6 separate regions of the Homo sapiens genome follow, and regions 1, 2, 4, 5 and 6 are each linked to region 3. The links are contacts of gene promoters, found by promoter capture Hi-C in blood cells and fetal thymus (Javierre and others, 2016). All regions are on one chromosome and are shown on one strand. Each heading gives the region's core, a stretch centred on a gene start or on the middle of the fragment in contact. The rest is flanking DNA. Distances are from core to core; before and after follow the strand shown. Region 1 overlaps DMXL1-DT (DMXL1 divergent transcript). Region 2 overlaps HSD17B4 (hydroxysteroid 17-beta dehydrogenase 4). Region 3 holds the start of SRFBP1 (serum response factor binding protein 1). Region 4 overlaps HSD17B4 (hydroxysteroid 17-beta dehydrogenase 4). Region 5 overlaps HSD17B4 (hydroxysteroid 17-beta dehydrogenase 4). Region 6 overlaps HSD17B4 (hydroxysteroid 17-beta dehydrogenase 4).

Evidence for each region. The method cuts DNA at HindIII sites, captures the fragments that hold promoters and counts their contacts. A CHiCAGO score of 5 or more calls a contact.
Region 1: a fragment that was not itself captured here is called in contact with the fragment with the promoter of SRFBP1 in region 3 in 2 of 17 cell types (naive B cells and total CD4 T cells); the score reaches 5.6 in naive B cells.
Region 2: a fragment that was not itself captured here is called in contact with the fragment with the promoter of SRFBP1 in region 3 in 1 of 17 cell types (naive B cells); the score reaches 5.6 in naive B cells.
Region 4: a contact is called between a fragment that was not itself captured here and the fragment with the promoter of SRFBP1 in region 3, in 5 of 17 cell types (endothelial precursors, naive B cells, naive CD8 T cells and 2 more). The highest score is 10.0, in endothelial precursors.
Region 5: a fragment that was not itself captured here is called in contact with the fragment with the promoter of SRFBP1 in region 3 in 6 of 17 cell types (endothelial precursors, naive CD4 T cells, fetal thymus and 3 more); the score reaches 10.0 in endothelial precursors.
Region 6: a contact is called between a fragment that was not itself captured here and the fragment with the promoter of SRFBP1 in region 3, in 2 of 17 cell types (naive CD8 T cells and total CD4 T cells). The highest score is 5.4, in naive CD8 T cells.

Annotation. Positions count from the first base shown.
Region 1 is chr5:119,029,584-119,032,283 of GRCh38, reverse strand. The region is part of intron 1 of DMXL1-DT (DMXL1 divergent transcript); the gene reads left to right. Among named protein-coding and RNA genes, the nearest start is that of DMXL1-DT, 40 kb to the left of the region's middle. RefSeq lists an enhancer at 393-442. The HindIII fragment of the contact is 3,610 bases long and covers 1-2,700 here.
Region 2 is chr5:119,520,968-119,523,667 of GRCh38, reverse strand. All of the region lies in intron 17 of HSD17B4 (hydroxysteroid 17-beta dehydrogenase 4), which reads right to left. Among named protein-coding and RNA genes, the nearest start is that of HSD17B4, 70 kb to the right of the region's middle. The HindIII fragment of the contact is 2,402 bases long and covers 229-2,630 here.
Region 3 is chr5:121,960,589-121,963,288 of GRCh38, reverse strand. It overlaps SRFBP1 (serum response factor binding protein 1), which reads right to left and starts at 1,314. Exons shown (of 8, transcript NM_152546.3): 1 at 1,221-1,314. The coding sequence starts at 1,256. RefSeq lists enhancers at 1,329-1,378, 1,123-1,661. The HindIII fragment of the contact is 3,156 bases long and covers 1-2,700 here.
Region 4 is chr5:119,475,757-119,478,456 of GRCh38, reverse strand. HSD17B4 (hydroxysteroid 17-beta dehydrogenase 4) reads right to left here. Exons shown (of 24, transcript NM_000414.4): 6 at 2,587-2,633; 7 at 956-1,040. Among named protein-coding and RNA genes, the nearest start is that of HSD17B4, 25 kb to the right of the region's middle. The HindIII fragment of the contact is 1,378 bases long and covers 762-2,139 here.
Region 5 is chr5:119,459,333-119,462,032 of GRCh38, reverse strand. All of the region lies in intron 2 of HSD17B4 (hydroxysteroid 17-beta dehydrogenase 4), which reads right to left. Among named protein-coding and RNA genes, the nearest start is that of HSD17B4, 8.2 kb to the right of the region's middle. RefSeq lists a silencer at 244-461 and an enhancer at 2,607-2,700. The HindIII fragment of the contact is 3,959 bases long and covers 1-2,700 here.
Region 6 is chr5:119,491,704-119,494,403 of GRCh38, reverse strand. HSD17B4 (hydroxysteroid 17-beta dehydrogenase 4) reads right to left here. Exons shown (of 24, transcript NM_000414.4): 10 at 2,280-2,304; 11 at 458-586. Among named protein-coding and RNA genes, the nearest start is that of HSD17B4, 41 kb to the right of the region's middle. The HindIII fragment of the contact is 6,928 bases long and covers 1-2,700 here.

The DNA of each region.
Region 1 (2,700 bases), core at 156-2,655, 2.9 Mb after region 3:
AGAATTGAGGGAGTTAGCCATATGGATACTTGGAGGAGGAACATTCCAGGCAGAAGGAATAGTCAGTGCAAAGGCCCTGAGTGTGGCTGGCCCGTCTGAAGAGAAGCAAGGCCAATATGACTGAAGGGGAGTGAATGGGAGGACTAGCAGGTGACGAGGAAAGAGGGTGAGTCATGGTCAGTGGGGCAGATCATGTAAGGCTACGTGATTTGTAGTAGGCAGGGCCTTGGTTTTGACTCTGAGTGAGATGGGAAGCCATTGGATGGCATTGAGGAAAAGAGTGACGTCTGATTTATGTTTTAATAGGATCACTTTGGCTGCAGGATTGAGAATAGTTTTAAGGAAGGCAAAGGCAGAAACAGAATTACTAGAATGTAAACTCCATTAAAGCAAAGTTTTTATACGTTTTATTCACTTTGTATCCCTAGTGGTTTATAATAGTGACTGGCAGATAGAGATAATCATTTGTTTAAGAATGCATATTTGCATATGTGTGCACCAGATCATGATATGAAATATATTTCTTATGGTAGATCAAGGTCAAAAGGATTGAAAACCCCTGTCTTAAAACTGACCTAGTCTTGGATCTCAGGAAAGGGATTCTCTGGGAATTGACCTTTTTTAGGCTGAGATCTGAAGAATGAACAGGAGGATGTGGGGGTGTCAGAAAAAAGACTTTTTCAGAAGTTGTAAATTTGAGAATCATCAGCACATGCATAGCATTTGAAGCTCTCTGCAGGTGTTTTTGTGTGAAAGTAAGGAGCCAAATTAAAGCCATTGCTAACCGCCTCCACTTTCTGTTTCTTATTTTGTATGCTCATTTCCTGTAGCATTCGTCCTGTTGAAAAATAGTGTAGTCATTTATTTTTTAAAAAGTATAAATCTTGAAGGACGCTTCCTGTCTCACATCATAGTAATAGGAAAAGTCAGTGAATTTGAAATTCAAATTTAGTTTATTTAAATGAGTAAGAAGATTCACGGATATTTTAGGTATGCCACATTTTTTGAGGCTATATCTTTTTACCTCTGAGTCTGATTCAATTTTGAATACTCAGAATATGCTTCTTCTATACAAGTATTGGTATGAGTTATATCATCTGCTCAAGGGACTGGCAATGATTTTCTTTATTTTTTTTCTTTTGGGGACTTTTGGGAAGGCATGATTGTGTGTTGAAATGTGAGAATGACATGAGATTTGGGAGAGGCCATGGGTGGAATGATATGGTTTAGCTCTGTGTCTCCACAGGGCAAAATAGGGACAGCAAGTCCTGAAGGAGAGGAGGCTCATACTTACATATCTGAGATAAGAACTGTTCCAAGAACTTTCTAAAAATCCTTTCACTTCTTTCATACACCCTTTGATAAGATTTATCACAAGATGGCCGGGCACGGTGGCTCACGCTTATAATCCCAGCACTTTGGGAGGCTGAGGCGGGCTGATCACTTGAGGTCAGGAGTTTGAGACCAGCCTGGTCAATGTGGTGAAACCTCATCTCTACTAAAAATACAAAAATTAGCCAGGTGTGGTGGCATGTGCCTGTAATCCTAGCTACTCAGGAGGCTGAGGCAAGAGAATTACTCGAACCCAGGAGGTGAAGGTTGCAGTGAGCTCACTACAGCGCTACTGTATCCAGCCTGGGCGACAGAGTGAGACTCCATCTCAAAAAAACAAACAAACAAACAAAAAAACGCAAAAGATTTATCACAAGACATTCTTTAAGACTGCAGTGATTAAGTTGAGCTGTTCTTGGAAAAACATTTGCCCAGTAATGGCATTTCTATCAATGAACTAACAGCAACTCTGGCTTAGAAACTCCATGACCAATGAGCCATTTCTAAGCAGCTCATGTAAATATTTTTTGCTAATAAAGGCTCTCCTTACCCTTTCTTCACTGAATGCTCTGGTGATTTGCCATGTCATGCATTCCAGATTATAATCCTTATTTCTTTTCTTTTTTCTTTTTTTTTTTTGAGACGGAGTCTTGCACTGTTGCCAGGCTGGAGTGCAGTGGCTTGATCTCGGCTCACTGCAAGCTCCGCCTCCTGGGTTCGCGCCATTCTCCTGCCTCAGCCTCCCAAGTAGTTGTGACCACAGGCGCCCGCCACCACCCCCGGCTAATTTTTTGTACTTTTAGTAGAGACGGGGTTTCACCGTGTTAGCCAGGATGGTCTCGATCTCCTGACTTCGTGATCCGCCCACCTCGGCCTCCCAAAGTGCTGGGATTACAGGCACCCGGCCTATAATCCTTATTTCTATTTCCAAGTAGACTCAACATATTTAGAGATAATTTTCTCTAGCATCTTTTGACAAACTCGTGACCTAAACACCTCTCATTAGGCCCCACCTCCCAACACTATTGCATTGGGAGTTAAGTTTTCAACACATGAAATGTGGGGGACACAGTCAAACTATATCACTTTGTCTGCCACTATTAGAATCAGATATCCACATTGTGTGTTTTTTTTAAAAAGAATCACTTCTTTTTTTTTTTTTTTTTGAGATGGAGTCTTGCTTTCTTGCCGAGGCTGGATTGCAGTGTCACCATCTCGGCTCACTGCAACCTCCGCCTTCTGGGTTCAAGTGATTCTCCTGTCTCAGCCTCCTGAGTAGCTGTGATTACAGGCGCACAACACCATGCCCAGCAAATTTTTGTATTTTTAGTAGAGACAGGATTTCACCATGTTGGCCAGGTTGGTCTC
Region 2 (2,700 bases), core at 180-2,679, 2.4 Mb after region 3:
CATATATCATTCCTATAAATGAATACAGTGTTCTGAAGAAATCGTATTAATATGAAATATCTCACATTATTTCAATGATAGCATTGCTTTCTATAGATAACAGAGTTAAACGAAGACAAAAAAGGTTCATTATGAGAAATGACAAAAGCCAACTGACTAGATGTTTGACCCATTCAATCATAACACAAAATAAGCATTGTTCAATTAATAATGACCACTGCCAAAGCTTATCTTCTACGTATTTTGAAGAAATGGCATATTTCAGAAGGAAAGCTAAAAGTTTCTTGTTTCGTTTCATTTCTGCCTGGAAATAAGTCATTATAAATAACAACCACCAAAAAAATAAGAAAAAGAAAAATAGCTATATATTATTTTGCATATTAAAAGTAGGTGGGAGGATAATCTGCATACAGGTAAACTATTCCTTAATTTGATTTTTTAAAATTGTACCATTAAGTTAAACTAAATGCTAAATAAATAGGCTCAGGAAACTAGTGCTTTTTAAGTCCTCATATCCTCGAAAAAAAAAATACAAATAATGAGAACAAATAAAACTACACAAATCTCAAGCCTACAGTGTAACTAGAAGACAGAGAACACTGCAGAGTTCAAATTCCAGTAAGTCTCAAAATAAACACCACTTTTCTATCAGTGCTAACTTTTGAGCACCCTCTGAAAGCTACTGCAGAGTGGCAGGGCTTGGGGGGTGCAAAAGCAGTGCATGGAAGAGGGAAAAGGAAAATCACTCCCAGATAAATCCATCTTAAGGGCAAAAATACTGAAATGAATCCTGGAAGATTACAGCACTGACTACAATGAAAATAATTAATAGTACACTAGTCTTCCAGTGGCAATTCCAGAAAGGTATCACTTTCGGGGAGAACAGAATAAAACAAAGATATCACCTTTGGAGACTGGATGAAGAAAAAAAGAAGCAAGAGAGGAAATTAATGATCCTGAAAGATAATTTATTTTATTTTTAAAAATAAAACACCTCCCCACAGTGCCCCTTCTTTAAAGCCACCCACTAAAGAAATTGCATGTTGCTACACAGAGAGAAAGGGCAATTTTGAACTAAGAATCTTGGAAACCACCCCAAACCACAAAACGCACAGAGGTAAATATTCTTCATCTGTACAACACTAACATAAAACTAAAATTGCAATTCCTCAGGGATCTAGAACTAGCAATACCATTTGACCCAGCCATCCCATTACTGGGTATATACCCAAAGGATTATAATCATGCTGCTATAAAGACACATGCACACGTATGTTTATTGCAGCACTACTCACAATAGCAAAGACTTGGAACCAACCCAAATGTCCAACAATGATAGACTGGATTAAAAAAATGTAGCACATATACACCATGAAATACTATGCAGTCATAAAAAAGGATGAGTTCATGTCTTTTGTAGGGACATGGATGAAGCTGGAAACCATCATTCTCAGAAAACTATTGCAAGGACAAAAAACCAAACACCACATGTTCTCACTCATACGTGGGAATTGAATAATGAGAACACTTGGACACAGGAAGGGGAACATCACACACCGGGGCCTGTTGTGGGGTGGGGGAGGAGGGAGGGATATCATTAGGAGATATACCTAACGTAAATGACGAGTTAACGGGTGCAGCACACCAACATGGCACATGTATACGTATGTAACAAACCTGCACATTGTGCACATGTACCCTAGAACTTAAAGTATAATAAAAATACATATATATTTAAAAAAAAAAAACCAAAACTGAAAATGCAAAACAAAACCTTTTAGTAAATAAAATCCACCCCCCCTCCAAATAAACAAACTGCCAAACAGAAGAAAACTGTAACAAAACACTCAAGCATTTGGGGATGTAAAACAAACACTCTGAATCCAAAATCCAAAAACTAAGAAAATAAATGGATGACATACATGAAGAAATAAATAAGTAATGATTAAATTCAAGAAAGAAATGGAAAGAAAAAATCAAAATCATATAAGAAATGAAGACTAAATTATAAGGTACCCAAAGGAGAACACATTCAAATAAAAATTAAATAAGGGGATGGCAGAAAGGGCAGAAATGAACCATGAGAATGAAAATGAGATCAAGAAGCAACTAAAAAAGAACAGAAGAAAAGTAGTTGAAAGACATGAAAAGATTCAACATACATATAAATGGATACCCAAAGAAAGAAAAGCAAAACAGTGAAAGAGAACTAATATTTAAAATTTTAATACTATAAAACTAAAAGACATGAATATACATATTAAAAAGGCCCACCAGGTATATAAGGAAGACTGACCTGCAACATGCAAGACTGAGACATATCCCAGCAAAACCATTAGACTTTAAAAACGAAAATAATCTTGAGGGCCTCAGGGTAAAGATCAAGTAACTTACAGGGGAAGATAATTAGATTGGCATCAGACTTTTCAAAGGCAACATACAAAGTAAGACAACAATGATGCACCATTTTTAAGAAATAAGATTTTATATCCAACAATGCTGTCCCTTCAAGTATCTAGGGTAAATAGTTTTAAAGATATAGAAACCAAGGCAACACTATACACAGGAGCCGTTCTTGGGAAACCTTCCACAGAAGGAGCTTCATCCAACTAAGAGCTGACTAAGAAGCTTTGGCAAAAGGGTTGACATATTCAACTGCAAATCTAAAACTAAAAGATACAGAAAAGTGGAAATAATACA
Region 3 (2,700 bases), core at 65-2,564:
CCACTGTCAACTGAAATCCTGACTCGTTAATCTGGCAGCAGAGAATATATTTCAGTTTTATTTCCTTCTTCATCTCACAAGTTCCCATCAGTGAAGAGTTACTTATCCCTGTATTACCCACGGGTTCTTCTGCTACTAGCCCTTTCCTGCTTATACCAGTCCCTCTGCCTGGAATGACTTCTTCCCCTTTCCTGAATCACTGACTGCAATTCCTGTGCAAGATCCCTAAAGACCAAGGACAAGTATCACCCATTTCATTTTGCCGCCTTTGGAAACTTTTCTGCATTACTAGGTTTTGGAGGCATTCTTCACACATTGTTCTGTAACACAGGTGAGTGTTGCTTAGCTCTCTTACTTGAGTATAGGTTACTAGAAAATATGAAATATCCCTTACACTACTGTGTGTAATCTAAACAGTGACTTGCTCATAAACGGGATAAAGAATTTCCTTTCTGTATCTAACTGTGAGGTCCTTACTCGATCCTTATGTTTCCAGCTTACTTTAAGACTTTGGATGACATTATTTTGTTGAATAGAAGCAGAAACCAGAGGGGGATAAGTGGTAGAAATGGTATTTTGTCGACACCGCACACTATGGAAGTGACGGTGGTGAGAACAAATGTCTGATGAGAATGGACTGAAAAAGCAGAAAAAAGAATTGAGGATAGCAAGTATAAACAGCTCTTTATTGAAGTTCTGCTGTAAACGGAAGCAAAGAAATAGGACACTAACTGGAAGAGGAAACGAAGTACTGAGCATACAGTCTCATTCAAGACCACCAATTTCTTAGAAGCTACAGCTCTTACTTTCTCTCTTTCATTTTCGACAGGCAATAAAGAGCAGGTAATGTGTACTGAAAGTTTATTAAGGGTCAGGCACTTGCAAATACTTTACGTATCTCAGTTAATCTCACAACCCTGGGACGAACTATCTTGAGTTCCGCTTTACAGACGAGAATATTGAACGTACAGGCTAAAGGTTCTTCCCAAAGTCCCACAGACATAAATTCGTGGGGCCTGACACATGTCTCTCACTTTAGTCACCTGGAGACCGAAAAGGGAAATTACCGGTTGCCAAACTCCAAGTTGCGGGAAACCCGCCTGGGCCCACCACGAAAGTTCCTCCAACCGCACCCTCTATGCCCGCCTCCGACCACGCGTCTCAAAAGAGCTGGTTTTGAGGACCCTTAAAGTCAGCCCCATAGGTTCCTCGGCGCTCACCTCGTTATTGAGGTTCAGAGTTCCCGGCTGAGCCATGGTAGATGAAGGAATATGATCCGCCGCTGCCTGCACGTGAACCGGTCTCTCAGACCGCGGCTGCGTCGCCACGCCCCTCAACGGAAGCCTCTTCTGTCCAAAACTCATCCGCCTTCTGCTCTAGCTGCCGCCTGGGAACAAGAAACATTGACGCTTGGAAGGGAAAACCGGAACTGAGACAGAACAACTACCGGCGCAGAGGGCTACGCAACGGAATTGCGCGTTCCTATGGAAACCAGACGGGGGCTGGTAGCTGGGCAACGTCTAGTTTTTCAAGATTCGGTTTGTGTGTGTGTGTGTGTGTGTGTGTGTGTGTGTGTGTGTGTGTGTGTGTTCCCTTGGTACACTGCGCTCGCATTGTACCGGCCTTGGTTTTTCTCTCTAATGGCTAGGGGGGCGCTGAACGGCGGTGAAAGAGCTCTTCTGAAATGATCACTTGAATGAACGATTTTTTGCTTCCATTTTTTTAAATCTAGTATTTGTGAAGATTTCTGCTTTTCTAACAAGCACACCTTTTTAAATCCTCGCAGTTTTTTGTTACAACCTGACATTATAGCTGAGGTGCGGACATTTTTTTCCTGCACACTATAGAAGGGTTTAAATTTAGGGAATAAACATTTGAAGCAAAACCAGGATACACATTTGGTACTGCCTGTGGGAATGGCTGTTTATTAGCCGGCAAGCATAGGAGACGTAAGGGAGTGTGTTTGAATTAGGTAATATATAATTGTCAACACCTTCTAGTATTGACCATTAAAATGTGTCAAATGGTGGTCCAAGAGCTTTACATAAATTAGCTCCAAATCTCCACAGAAATCCAACAAGATAGAAATTATTTTCCTTTTATTAATATTATTTTGTTAGAGACCCAGTCTCTCTTTGTCATCCAGGCTGGTGTGCAGTGGCACAGTCATAGCTCACTGCAGCCTCAAACTCTTGGGCTCAAGCCATCCTCTCACCTCAGCCTTCCAAATAACTAGGACTACAGGAGTGAGCCACCCTACTCTGCTCTGAACTATTATTTTACAGATGTGGAAAGTGACTTCAGAGGCACCAAGTGCCTCGCCCAGAGTCACTTGCCTGGGACTGTCCACTGCTACAGGACTTCAAGTCCAGCTACATAATACCTGGGGTACAGTGCAAAATGAAAATCCAGGCCCCTTTATTCAAAATGCAGGAAAAACGTTTCTTCCGGCGGAGGGTGGTGGCTCATGCCTGTAATCCCAGTACTTTAGGAAGCCTAGGCGGGCGGATCACCTGAGGTCGGGAGTTCGAGACCAGCCTGACCAACGTGGAGAAACCCCGTCTCTACTAAAAATACAAAATTAGCCGACCGTGGTGACGCATGCTTGTAATCCCAGCTACTCGGGAGGCTGAGGCAGGAGAATCACTTGAACCTGGGAGGCGGAGGTTGCCGTGAGCCAAGATCACTCCAGACTGGGCA
Region 4 (2,700 bases), core at 201-2,700, 2.5 Mb after region 3:
TTAAAACAATGCCATCTCAAAATCTGACCCAACCTCACTCACTCTACTTAGGCTAAGTAAAATAAATCATATTATTTATTTTCAGAAACTGTCAGGACCAGGATAAACTAGAAATCTCCAACAAAAACAGGCATCACAAGCAATTTGCTTCTATTAGGTATGTATGAATCCTAAATTAACAGGAATGACCTCAGCACTAGAGTGCAACAGAGGACATGGACTAAAGCATACTAGCACTGCCACAATGAGTTACTTATCTAGGAGCAATCATGAGGGGTCCTACAGTTCCTAAACAGTTTATAAAGACTAACTCACGTCTGACTAGCACCAGCCAGCAGGGACTAGCCATTCATCTCTCCCCAGCTGGTAAGACATGAAATAATATTCGGGTTACAGAATAAGGTATAACCGAATCCTCAATGTGTATACTATCTTCTAAAATGCCAGAAACTAAGGCAGGAAGATTACTTGGGCCCAAGAGTTTGAGACCAGCCTGGGCAACAAAACGAGATACTGTCTCTACCAAAAAATTAAAAAACTTGCCAGGCATGGTGACACATACCTGCAGTCCCAGCTACTTGGGAGGCTGAGGTGGGAGGACTGCTTGAGCCCAGGAGGTAAGGCTACAGTGAGCCATGTTCATGCCACTGTACTCCAGCCTGGACAAGAATGAAACTATGTCTCAAAATAAAATAAAAATTGCCAGAGAGCAGCAAGAAAATCTTTAATAACAAAAAGAGGTAAAAAATAAATATAAAGCTTTCCAGCTCAGCCAATCTGTGACTAAATTATACCAATTTAATGAGGGTATGTGCCAAAACCATATGTTAAAAGGTTGTACATATTCCTCAATGTCATAAATCATTTCACAACACTTCACATAATCTTTCCCTGTACACAAGAACCCCCAGACACAACATCTTAAATCCCCCTTGACAACCACATGCAACTCTACCTTCCATACTTCTGTTTCTTCATGTGTTCCCATGCTGCCCGTGTCACTTGGAATGAACCCCGCAAATGAACTCTGTGGATTATATCTAAAACAATAAATTATTTTTATTAAATATTTTGTAAAAACTTAGGCATGTCTAAGAATCAACATAAGCAATGTTGTATTTATACAAAGATGTTCATTTTATACCTAATGTATAAAATTGCCTACTGTCACACCCCAATGAGTATTTTGCCTTTATTCCAGTTATGCTACTAATCAATACTTCACACTTAGAACTACAACAGCTCTCCTCATAATTTGTAAAATTAATGTAATGCCTATACACATCTAAATATAATGCTACGCCCTTATTTTATGCCTACTTCATATAAAAATTTTGCTAATATAAAATCCAAGATTTTTATAAATATAACTGGCACCCAACACTAACATCAGTTAAGGCATAATCATAAATCACATAGCTCATTAAGAAATATTTACAAAATACTCACTAGATCCCTATTGTTACCATTTGCAAATGAGTTAGTGAGAGGCCTGTTTTCACAAATTTCAATCTAACGAACAGACCACTTATGAAACATTCAGACAGACAATTCTAGATTTTAATTGTCAAGTTTTTTAAGCATTCTTACTTATTTTTGGTAAAACAAATGTTTTCATGTGTATATTAGAAGAAGAATGTAAGAGTGAAAAAAGGAACTAAAAAAAAGAAAGAGAGGGAGAAGGGTAGTCAGGAGTAGTGGCTTAGTAGGATGGAATCAGAGAAGGAAATACCTCAGTCCCGTTGCAGCACCAAGAAAAGCACCAACATAGGCCCCCTTTGCCAGCAAATCCTATCTTTCTCAGCTTCTTTTTTACCCCAGTTGTTACAAGGGAAGCAGAAACTAAAAGCTCTTCTTAGCTTAATTCTAAATCAAAGACACTAACTCTTCTTCCAAAAGACAGTCAGGCACTATTCCCCCAAAACACACTCTATAAACAATGATACAATTGTTTCACCTCAGTTGCCATGCTTCCCTCTGTCTCAGCCACCACTGTTCATTTTAGTTCTGATGGCCAATGAAAGTAAGCACAAAGAGGAGCAAAAGAAAAAAAAAATTCTTAACTGTGATTTGTTCATTATCTAAACTCAATCTTTCCAATTCAGAAAGAATGGAAAACTTTCCTATTTACTAGAAGCTTCAAAATTATATCCAGGTTTTGTCCTAACCTGTTCTAAAATCTCCATCATTTTTAGTGCACTAGACTCCCTTAAATATCCTGCTCCTGTTCTTGAAAAAGATTCACACAGCTGGATAAGCACGTTAAAGGCTGTTAAGAGTTAATACCTCTAGAAAATGCTGACAACCTCTTAAGGAGAAAAAAAGGGGAGAGGGAAACCTGAAGAAATAAAATCCTTTTAGATATCTTCTAAACAAATGATTTAACATTTTTTAAAAGTATTAAATGTTTTCTAAAAGAGGCTACTTCTAACTATTCATTGTCTTCAGTATACAGTTTACTCATCATTTATATTAGCAGCAAAAGTAGATAGAAGCAGGTTTTTCCTTAAATGTATAAATTTATCAAATACTAAAAAGGCTAAATGGATAAGTATGTTCCCCAGAGAAATACTAAAAACAACTTACCCCAGTCTTCATCACTTATCCTAGCAAAGGAACGATCCCTCAGAATTCTAAAAAATCAATGTTGTATAGGGTAAAAGGAGGAAAGTATATACTTTTTAAAAAAATTATACACAC
Region 5 (2,700 bases), core at 78-2,577, 2.5 Mb after region 3:
TTTCCTTGTTTCTGTCATTTTAAATAAATCAGTGACTCGGACAGTCTATTAACTACAGAAGATTTTTCCTAAAAAGCATTCCCAAAATTTTGTCAAATACGTGCTATATTGGGAATGTACGAATATTGGGAAATCCTTTTCGTTTTTTCTTGAGACAGGGTATCACTGTCACCCAGGCTGAGTGCAGTGACACAATGATAGCTCATTGAAGTCTCAAACTCCCAGGCTCAAACCATCCTCCTGCCTCAGCCTCCTGAGTAGCTAAGACTACAGGCATGCACCACCACACGTGGCTTTTTTTTTTTTTTTTTGGCAAAGACAGCGGGCCTTGCTATGTTGCCCAGGCTGGTCTTAAACTCATGGCCTCAAGCAATCCTCCTGCCTCAGCCTCCCAAACTGTTGGGATTACAGGCGTGAGCCACTGCACCCAGCCAGGATCCAAGGAATTCTAAAACACACTTAGATCCGATAAAAAGTATTCTATAAGTAGGTAAATAGATAACTAAGTACAAGGTACCAAATTATCAGGCATCAATAGCCTGAAAATAGAACCACGTGTTTGTGAGAATGCCTGTTACCCCACATTCTCACAACATTGGTTATTATCATTGCCTTCAGTCTGACAATTACATGATTATAATTTGTAGCTCATTATTTTAGTCTACATTTTTTTGAGCACTAGTAAAGTAATATTTTATTTTCATGGCTTATATTTATATTTATTATTGTTTTGCCTATTTAGTTCACATTTTATTTGGGATACTTGCTTATAGATTTGTAAATGTCCTTTATTTATAAAAGATCTTAATTCTTTGTTACATAAGATATGAATCATAAATTCCTTTACTGAAATGTTGAGAGAGAAATAAAGTTCATATCTGAGCATCAATATTACTTGATGACTATTATGTACATTGCTTTTTACCCCATCTCAGGGTAAAAGTTAGTCCTTACTCTGAACTAAAGGTCCTATGTGATCTGGCCTTCTAGGACCCCTCTGCCCTCATCTCTCACTTTTGTCTCCCTTATGACCTTGCTCGCTATATAACCACACTGGCTCCCTTCCTAACCCTAAAACATACCATGCCTGCTGCAGCCTCAGTAACCTGGCTTCAGCTGCTTCTTCTGCCAGGGATGCCGCGACAGCAGATCTCCTCAAGGCGCACTCCTTCACTTCCTGCAGTCTCTCCTTAAAGCATTTTCTGTTCCATTCACTCATTTTTTTCTCCACAGCACCTACATCTATTATATTTTTACATATGTATTTCTTGATTATCTGTCCCTCCACTACTCCCCACTAGAATATATGCACCATGAAAGTAGGGACTCTGTTTTATTCCCACTATATTCCTCTGGCATCTAGAACAGTGTTTGCTACATAATAGACGCTTAATAAATACATGTTAGATGAATAAATGAATCTATTTGATGTTAAGTCTATTAACCTTATTACTTTTTTTAAAACTGGCAAATGACAAAATAACGACTTGCTAAGAACTACTCTAGCTCTTAAAATGACAAATAGCTAAGAGCTACTCTAAATTTATTCAAAGGTTTTCCCCCATAATCCAGATTGGTGATAGTCATGGAGGTATCCAAGGGAGATGTGGGTATTTCATGTACGGCTCATTTATTATCAGCTGGAATTCACATGTGCCTTCTTATGATCTTTCTCCCTGTATTATATCAGTTTCACTTATTCAATCAGTATATATTCTTGATTACTAAGTACTATACTTACCGTTGCGGAGAGTGTATCAGTGCCTAAAGCAGCCTGGGATGGTTTAAATATTTAGCCCCTCCAAAACTCACATTGAAATTTAATCCCTGATGTGACAGTATAGAGATGTGGGGCCTTGGCCGGGCACAGTGGCTCACACCTGTAATCCCTGCACTTTGGGAGGCCGAGGCGGGCGGATCACGAGGTCAGGAGATCGAGACCATCCTGGCTAACACAGTGAAACTCCATCTCTACTAAAAATACAAAAAAAAAAATTAGCTGGGCACGGTGGCAGGCACCTGTAGTCCCAGCTACTTAGGAGGCTGAGGCAGGAGAATGGCGTGAACCCGGGAGGTGGAGCTTGCAGTGAGCCGAGATAGCGCCACTGCAGTCCGGCCTGGGCAAAAGAGGGAGACTCCCTCTCAAAAAAAAAAAAAAAGAGATGTGGGGCCTTTAAAAAGTGATTGAATTGTGAGGGCTCTGCCCTTATAAATGCATTAATCTATTCATGGACTAATAGATTAATCGGGTAATGAATTAACAGGTTATCATGGGAGTGAGACTAGTGGCTTTATAAGAAGAGGAAAAGAGACGAGAGCCAGCACACTCAGCCTCTTGCCCTGTGACGCCCTGTGCCATCTCGGGACTCTACAGAGTCCCCACCAGAAAGGAGGCCCTCCTCACCAGATGTAGCCCCTCAGCACTGGCCTACTCAGCCTACATAACTATAAGAAATAAATTCCTTTTTTAAAATACATTACCCGGTTTTAAGTGTTCTGTTATAAGCAACAGAAAACAGACTAAGACACAGAGCTTTTCCTTTAAGCATCTAGGAGAAACATGTATAAGGGGGCTAGGATGTGCCTTGAGTCAACAAGACCTCAGTCAACAAGACCTTCACTTTGATATATCCAGTTCTTGAGCAGAGTGAGTCATATATGGTAAGCAGGGACTGATATTGGTTCCTTTCTCTTCCCTTT
Region 6 (2,700 bases), core at 112-2,611, 2.5 Mb after region 3:
AATAATCTTTTTGAGAAAGAAAGAAAGAAAGAAAGAAAGAAAGAAAGAAAGAAAGAAAGAAAGAAAGAAAGAAAGAAAAGAAAGAAAGAAAGGAAGAAAGAGAAAAATATGGTAAGATTGGGAGCATATAGGTAGGTAATGGAAGACTTTGAAACCAACCATCAGTGAGGATGTAAGTGCATTCAGCACAAATGAGTAAACATCTTATGCCATCCATCCCCCAATCACACATAAACCCAAAAAACAGGATTATAATAAAGCTGAAAAACTGACAGTGAGAATAACATAAATATCTTAAATGTGAAGAATTCTAATACCTACTAGAGCAGAAAATATGCTATAGACGATTCAAGTGTCTTAACACTACAGTTAACATAGAAGACAACTACATAAGAGAAGAAAATGCTTGCTGCCTCTGATTCCCCAACCAGGGCTAAGTGACGGGGACTCTCTTTACCTTGGATACTCTGAGGCTTGCTGGCATTCTCAAAGTCACAGATCTTCTTCCAGTTAGCCTTGACTGCCTCAGGAGTCATTGGGTGATTCTTTTGTCTTACAATAGCTCCAAGAGTCCGCTCCCAGCGTACTGGTTATAGAAACAAAACTAACATACTGAGCACATAGTTGAGAGACAGAAAGTAAGATGCATAAGAACCCTTTCATTTTTAAAGAGAAAGGAAATTCAGAAAAAAAGGGATTCTAACTCCTAAAGAGTTTTACCATAAGCCTTAAAATGAATTTTTCCCAACAAACCCACTAGGATAAGGTCAATTTAAAGAAACATTTGAAGCTGAAGGGAAAAATTTCTCCTCTGACTATGCCAGACAGTACTAAAGGTAGAATGTTATGCTGTATGTGAAAAAGTTTAATTATATAATAATCACATCAAAAGACTGACTTCATGACCACAGATCCCCAAAGTAATATACTTCATTCTTCTTGTTTATAAAATGAAGATAACTGAATAGAGCTTCGCTGAGTTAGCAAACTGAAGACTAATAGTAAATAATAGGTCAAAGACTTCAGTTAACAAAAATTTAGTGTAACAGGTGGCCCCAAATAATTCTCCCTTACCTTCTCTTTGCTCTACCTCTATTTCCACAAGAAGTCAGTTAGAATGCACAGATTCATAAAAACCATTACTGCTGCATAAGGAGAATTTTTAACATTGTTTTCTTTTTAAAAACCAGAGGTATAAACAACTACTAATAACCTTATTTAAACATAATAGTCAGACACTGATGATTGTTAAACTGAAGATTTGTCTTTGGGAATGACAGAAATGCCTGTGTCTAGAGCTTTCCTATTGATAAAGTGCCAGATATAGCTTTTACTGCAAAACCTTATGTTCCTTTTTTAAATGAATGCAATAAGACACTCAAAAATGCTTCAAGAATATAAGCCACTTTAACAATTAGAGAAAATGACCATTAATTCTAAAAATATTATACTACTACAGCAATGCCCTCCAGAGATAGCAACCTTTTAACTGATTCAGTTAATTGGATTAATTTTGATACCCATAGCCAACTAAATATAAGCTGAGACACAGAAATTTTCACAATTTTTTTAATGCCATAAAGCAATTCTCAAATTTGGAGTTCACAAGGTTTGAGAGATGGGGTAGGAGAGGGTTGAAGCCAAGTAAATTTACTATTTAACTATTTAAAATATTTAATTTAAATAGTTATTTAAAATAACTATTTAAAATAATTTTACTATCTAAAATAACTATTGGGCTAAAGCGGAATAATTCCCATAGATCAGCTGCAATTTCTGTCCCAGTAAGTTGTCCAATGTGATTCCTCACTCCCCTTGACGTCTCCTGCTTCATGGAAGAAAATAATTACATGGGAAAATTGGAGAACTTGCCTGCTGCTCTAGAATAGGCTCAACCCATCTTTTTCCAAAACAGCTCTCCCTCCCACTCACTTCTCTGCTGAAACAGCAAGAACGAGCATGTGGGAAGTCAAAGACATGGGAGGATGATTATCAATATATGCTGTCTGAAGGAATAGCCAGTTCTGAATAAAACAGGACAAGTCCTGAATAAGGACTACCTACAGGAAGAATAGATAGGGTCTTGAAAGGGCCACAGACCTATAGGACAATCACAATGTTTAAAAATACCTGTTGCTATAGCAATGTTTAAGTTTGAATATGCAAGCACTATATCCAATGGTTAGGCATTTGACAAAAATCTTACCCATCTCAACTGGATATGTAGGTTTAAAGATAAGGAAATAATCTATACAAACCAAAAACTGAGAGAGACTTACATTTTCCAATCCATCCTGCTCCAACCTACCAAAAAGAGGGGGAAAACATTATACCATCTAATGTGAAATCACTAATACAATTGTTTTAATTAGAAAAAAGTCAGCTCCTCTACTAGCAGTATTAGAATTCAAGGCAACAGGAGATGAAAATAATACAGCTCTGTAAGAGTCCACTGGCCCCCATGACTTTGCACTGCTCATGTTATCGGAGCACAAACGTAAAACAGTACAATGAAGTAGAAATGCATGTAATAGAAAAGAATGAATCTGATGTCAGAGACCAAGGCTTGATACAAATTTGTCTACTGACTACCCTGGCCAAATTATGTGATCCAAGTTTCCTCAAATGTAAAATAAAAATGACAGTACATATTTCATGTGGTTACCATGAAGCAAACAATATAAATAGTACACTGCCTAG